2 separate regions of the Homo sapiens genome follow, and region 2 is linked to region 1. The links are contacts of gene promoters, found by promoter capture Hi-C in human tissues and cell types (Jung and others, 2019). All regions are on one chromosome and are shown on one strand. Each heading gives the region's core, a stretch centred on a gene start or on the middle of the fragment in contact. The rest is flanking DNA. Distances are from core to core; before and after follow the strand shown. Region 1 holds the start of COG1 (component of oligomeric golgi complex 1). Region 2 has its middle 7.5 kb from the start of SOX9.

The links. Contacts are between HindIII fragments. The study calls those that stand out against the background at their distance.
Region 2: a contact is called between a fragment that was not itself captured here and the fragment with the promoter of COG1 in region 1, in 1 of the 25 tissues and cell types used here (neural progenitor cells).

Annotation. Positions count from the first base shown.
Region 1 is chr17:73,191,218-73,194,366 of GRCh38, reverse strand. COG1 (component of oligomeric golgi complex 1) reads right to left here and starts at 1,312. Exons shown (of 14, transcript NM_018714.3): 1 at 983-1,312. The coding sequence starts at 1,297. RefSeq lists a silencer at 821-1,030 and enhancers at 1,081-1,360, 1,991-2,040, 1,326-2,085. The HindIII fragment of the contact is 14,916 bases long and covers 1-3,149 here.
Region 2 is chr17:72,127,096-72,129,946 of GRCh38, reverse strand. No RefSeq gene overlaps it. Among named protein-coding and RNA genes, the nearest start is that of SOX9, 7.5 kb to the right of the region's middle. The HindIII fragment of the contact is 5,610 bases long and covers 1-2,851 here.

The sequences.
Region 1 (3,149 bases), core at 63-2,562:
GGGTTCATGCCATTCTCCTGCCTCAGCCTCCCAGGTAGCTGGGACTACAGGCGCCGGCCACCACGCCTGGCTAATTTTGTGTATTTTTAGTAGAGACGGGGTTTCACCGTGTTAGCCAGGATGGTCTGGATCTCCTGACCTCGTGATCCACCCGCCTCGGCCTCCCAAAGTGCTGGGATTACAGGCGTGAGCCACCGCACCCGGCCAATAAAAATTCTTTAGGAACGCAAGCTGCAGCTCCAATATGAGGATGTGTTTGTTTACCTCCCATCCTTCCTCATTGTGTCTAATCAATAGCGTTTGGGGGGAAGAACACGGGATAAGGAGAACCTGAATGAAAAAAGCCTTAGTTCTGAAAATGAAAATGTTCAGCTATTAAAAGGTAAGGGCTTGGCCGGCTGTGGTGGCTCATGACTGTAATCCCAGCACTTTGGGAGACCCTGTCACATACATACATAAAGTTAAGGGCTTGATAGCTGGTACCCTCAACAACTCCCAAAGGGTAGAACAGCTATTTGGGGTTGTGGAAGTTATTCTTGGGGAGATAAGGGGAAGGTTGGGATGAGGAAGAAATGACTTGGAGTGCAGGTGTCAACATAGGGGAGAAACCTGAGGAAAAACAATGTCAGGACATGTTATATAGGTGAGCGTTGAACTGTCAAGACAGAAACTCCTGGCGTTTTCCGCTAAAATTGAAAGGAGCCCAGTGAGGTGTAGGAATCAAGGCCCGGAAGTCGGGGGAAAGCGCCTGAAGAAACTGTTGAATGGCATTTCCAGAACGGATCAGCAGCCGCATATGTGCAAGGAAGGCTGGCACTGTCCTCTGAGGGGGGCCCAAAGGGTGAGGGGCGGATAGGCTCCTGGCTAAGGAAGGTGAGGACTCGCGGGGTCTGGGACTGACAGAGGGGGGCGGGGTTGACCTGCAAGGCCAGGGGCTCCGGGACCCGCCTGCGGGTCGCAGGGTGGGGGCACGGGGACTGACCTGCTGGGCCCGCGGTGGCCGGGGCGCGGCCGAGCCGGCCTGGCGGAGGCGGGCGCAGTACTGGTCGGTGGCCTTCACGGCGTCCACTAGCCCCACGGCGCAGCGGCGCATCTGGCCGATGGTGTCGGCCGCCTCGATCAGGTCGCGGTACCGTTCGCCCACCATCTGCCGCAGCTCCTCCTTCTTGTGCTCGATCTCGGCCCGAACCTGGCGCTCCAGCCCGCGGATCTCCTCCGCTCCATGCGTCTCGAAAAGAGCCGCAGGGTCGCGCAGATCCAGCCGCTTCAGCGCGGGTGAGGTTGCCGCGGTGGCCATGGTGCACTCGTCAGCCCCCGGCGATCTACCTACGCCCTTTTAGTCCCGCCCCCTCCGCCATCTTCGTTGGGGGCGGAAGCGCTTCCGCCCCGCCGGGGGCCATGTTTGTTACCCGAGGGGGCGGGCGCGAGGGGGCGGGCGCGAGGGGGCGGGCGCGAGGGGGCGGGCGCGAGGGGGCGGGCGCGAGGGGGCGGGCGCGAGGGGGCGGGCGCGAGGGGGCGGGGGCGGGCGCGGGCGCGGGGGCGGGCGCGGTCCTGCGCGGGGTTTTCTTAAACGGAGCCGGCTGGGAAGTGAGGTCGCCAGAGAGGTGAGGTCGCCAGGTTGGCTGCGAAACTGTGGCTGAAGTCTTCCCTTTCCCTTAGGAGCAGAGCTTCTCTGTGGAGTTAGGTGTCGGGATCGGGCCCCGCGGACTGACGGCGTTGGCGCAGGCGCAGCCGCCGCTCTCCGCGCGCCTGGCGCCCGCGAGCAGACTCGGGCGCGCTCGCCGCCGCTGGGTCTCGGATCGCACCCCGCGTGCAGTTTTAGGAAGAGGGACATCCGCGCCCCTCGCTGTTCCCCGGGAAGAGCTACCACGCCGCCCCTGAAGGGGTTCTGAGCGCTTGTTTGGCGTCTGCTTTTCCTCTGCTGTTGATTCGTGTTGGAGGTTTTCCATTTCGTTTAAAACCGATGTTTAGCCCCTGAAGACGTTTTCCCTGCGAGAGCCTGACCTTGGTGGCCATGGGGGAGGAGGGCGGCGGGCTGGGCGGGAGAGGCTGGGACGCCCCGGGGAACGCAGCGCCAGACGGGTGGGCGCTCCTCACGTGGCCCAGGAATAGTAGAATCTGGAGATTGTGGCTTGTTTCTGCTAAGTCCCAGACCCTTCTTTTTTTTTTTTTCTGTTTTAATTTCTTTTGGAAGATTTCACCCACACCAGTGTCGACAAAATGATGCAATGTGCGCAGCGGCCATGCTGAGCCCCCAGCAACTCAGGGCCTACCCTGCATCCCTGCTCATTCCCTCTCCCACCCGCCACCTCCGGACGCACAGAATTTCAATCTGCAAATAAATGGTGCATTTATAATATTCCAGTTTAACCCGCAAGAGCCTTGCGGCGTAGGGAGTATCATTCTCACTTTACAGACTCATTTTACAGATGGGGAAACGGGGGCCCGGAGAGGCAAAGGGTTTTTTACTCAGTAAAAGTGCAGTTTTCAGAGCCTGTCCACGAGATTATCTCATTTTCTCGCACATCGGCCATGCCAGGTAGGTAGGAGTAATATTCCTAGTCCATTTATGAGGAAAAAAAAAAAAGAAACAAAAGCTTATTTACCTGCCCAAATTACATAGCTGATAGGTGACCCAGTGAGTATTTGGACGTCGATTTTTAAATTACTGGCTCGCGCTCTTTTCTACGTTTTCACATAATTTCCCACAGAGCACCCTCTGTTGGCAGGCCTGCAGTTTGCAGTCTCTAATCCCATTCTGCAAGGGACACTTACTGGTATTCGGCTGATAAGCATCCGCAGTATCTCCTTTCTGTGATTGGGGAATTCATCGCTATCTAGCAAAATCTTTTTTTCTGGCGCCCTTTATAGCTACGGTGCCAGCCTGCGGCCTGGGACTGGCACAGCAGGCACAAGCGCCTAGGACTTGGGTGAAGAGTTAGTGACATTAAGAAGCAGGCTGTAATCCCAGCACTTTGGGAGCCCAAGGCGTGTGGATCCCTTGAGCCCAGGAGTTCAAGACCAGCCTGGGCAACACGGCCAAACCCCGTCCTTACAAAAAAATACAAAAAAAGGGGCGCGCGCCGGGTGGCTCATGCCTGTAATCCCAGCACTTTGGGAGGCCGAGGCAGGCGGATCACATGAGGTCA
Region 2 (2,851 bases), core at 165-2,664, 1.1 Mb after region 1:
CTGTAGAGATCAAAAGGCCCTTTGGATACTAGGGACTGGATTTTTCTCTTGGGATCTCTGCTATAAAGAGGATTGTGAGATCCATGAATCCATGGTTCATTAAGAGGTAGAGAGACTAATAGAGGGTTACTGGGGGGTGGGGCAGAGGGGCAGGAGGGAGTGGCTAAGGTAAAAATAGAGTGGGTTCCCTTTATGTAAATGGAGTCAATTTTATATCACTGAAAAAGAGATGAAGATCAGGAGAGGAAAAATGAACTCAGCATGTTCTCACCAAAACCATTTCCAAATCCATCAACTCCTCCTTCCCTGTGCCTGTTCTCCCAGTTGGCTCTAATGAGTTGCATTTTTTCCCCTATGGCATGCAAACAAGGAAAGACCAGGAAGTACTATTTATTTGCGCCCGCCTCCTCTTCATGAAAATGTAAGCTCCATGAGGCAGTCTTTCTTGTTCATGGTTGCGTCCTAATCAAATATTTATGGCAAGAATGAGGAGTGGGAATAATTCTAGAGTGGAATATGACAGTGGGAAATAATGGTGATCAGATGAACCTCCATATAAAATCCTGAATGCTCAAGGGACATGTCTAACAATAGCTTCAAGGAACTATTGCCCCAAATTTAGCCTGGTTGTTTTCTGAGATTACCTGGCCCATGTTGTATCTGGTCAAAAAAGAACGATTCTCCAGAAATTCGGAGTAAAATAGTTCTAGTCTGTGCTTGATAAAAGAGGAAAAGCTCAATCAGGGCCCAGCAAAGTTTTCAGCTGTCAGAGTCAAGGGGAGACTGAGAAAATGCAGAGGAGAGATGGCAAAGAAAAGAAAAAAAGGAATGAGCAGGAAGAGGAAAGGGAAAGAATAGGAGGGCAGGTCATTGCATTTCTTGTGTGCAAGAAACCTGTCTTATGCCCGTAAGTGAATGTCATTTGAGAAGCAAAAATTCATTTGACTCTCAGAGGGATGAGAAACTGTGTAAGGACAAGTGGTAGAGTGTTATTGCAGAGATTCCAGTGTGTTCTTTGGCAATACCGTCACGTTCATGGATACGATGGAAGGTAGATATTTGTTTAGCACCTACTATGTTTCAGGCACTGTTGAGAACAGAAAGAAATGTATTCTGCTATCTTCTATGGCAGCCTCTAATGCTTCAGTTTACTGGCCAATAGGTGTGATCAGGGGCAGATCCAGCTTTTGTGTGGCATGAAGTTTATGGTTTTTTTTTTTTTTTTTTTGAGGCGAAGTTCTTTAAGAAAAAGAATTTAAATTTTAAAAATTCAAGAATAAGTCCAGAGCCTTAAAAGGAGCCTGTGCTTTTGAGAGGTGCTGAAGCTTGAGCTTTGTTTGCTTCATAGTAAATCCATCTCTGGCTGTAGTGATAGTTCATCGATTACTTTAATATAAACGTGCCACCATGCTGCCTCACAAACGTTCATTTTGGAAATCAGGGAAGGAAAGGGATGGGATGGAGCTGAAGTGGGAAAGTCAAACAGCTCCAGTGAATCCCCATGGCTCTAATTTAATAATAGAGCAAAAGACCGATTCTTAAATGAGTTTATTTTTATTCCCTTTTGCTAAAAATTTCAGTTTTGTTAAAATGGTTAGAAAAGAAAAGGTTTTATTTTAAGTGCAAACAAACAAATAACCCTGGATCTACATACAAACTCTTTCCGGTGTGGAGGACTCTCCTAGGTTTCCAGTCAATGTGTTGCTGTTGCCAGGGTGATAAGCTCTGTGCTTCTGGTGTTAGACTAAAAATTCCTCCAAAATATTTTATAATCTGGTGATATTGGGCTTTGACTAGATCTGATAGATATGGGGGTGAGCGGGATTCTGAGGAATTCTCTCCCAGCACTCCTGTGTCTCTTGCATTTTACTGTGTATCAGAGCCACTTGGGGAGCTTATGAAACTCTTTTTCCTGGCTATTACTCCCAGGAATTCTAATGCAGGGGGACTGCTGTACAGACCAGGAGACTCCAATGCAGTCAACTCCCAGATTGCTCTGGCTAAAATCTCCTCTATTAACAACCCTGCTCTATGTAGGAGGAATTATAAACATACTCAGCAAAAGGGGAAAGTGAGGCACGGGAAAGCAAAACAACTTGCTTCAGTTCCCTTCACAAGTTTATGTCCGAACAGAATATTTTGGCTTCAAGAAGTCCTGGCAAAGGCCACATACTGGGAAAAAGAGCATATTTCTGGAAGGGAGAACAGTCTAGCAAACATACAGATTTGCTAGGGAAGGGGGTAGTCGCAGTGGAATGGTGTGTGTTGATTTTAATAGACAAAGGGATTAGAACGAATAAGGTAGGCAAGAATTAGTGAACACCACAGAGACTTTTAAAAAGGACTTTGTGAGTGTTGGCAAGAGAAAAAAAAAATAGAGATTTTGTAAGAAGGGAGGGCCTCAGCGCATGGAAGGCTATGTCACAAACAAGGAACAGAATTTGATGTCTGAAGGGGTAGGGAAGGATTTGCACAGTCCCCCGCAGATCACAGGCCCTCAATCAATGTTTGTCGAAGGAATTTGCAAAGGAGGCCGAGTACTAATGTTGCCTCGATTTGATAACTACCATTTTCCTGGTTGCCATGTTCCTGGTGTGGGATGTCAGCCAGGAATCCAATAAGCAGAAACAGACAATGTGAGGTAATGCCAGAGAGGTTGGACTCTGGTTAAGACTGCCAGAGACACAGGCCCAGTAGTAAAACTAGCCTGAGAGGGTGAAGGTGACTGACTCTTTAGAGACACTTCTCCAATCATCTGGGGTGTGGGAGTGGGGATGGGGAGGTGTGCCCATGTGAGGGAAGGAGTGATTTCATCTATTTAATGAAAAATGACCTGAACGTTTCTCTGAAC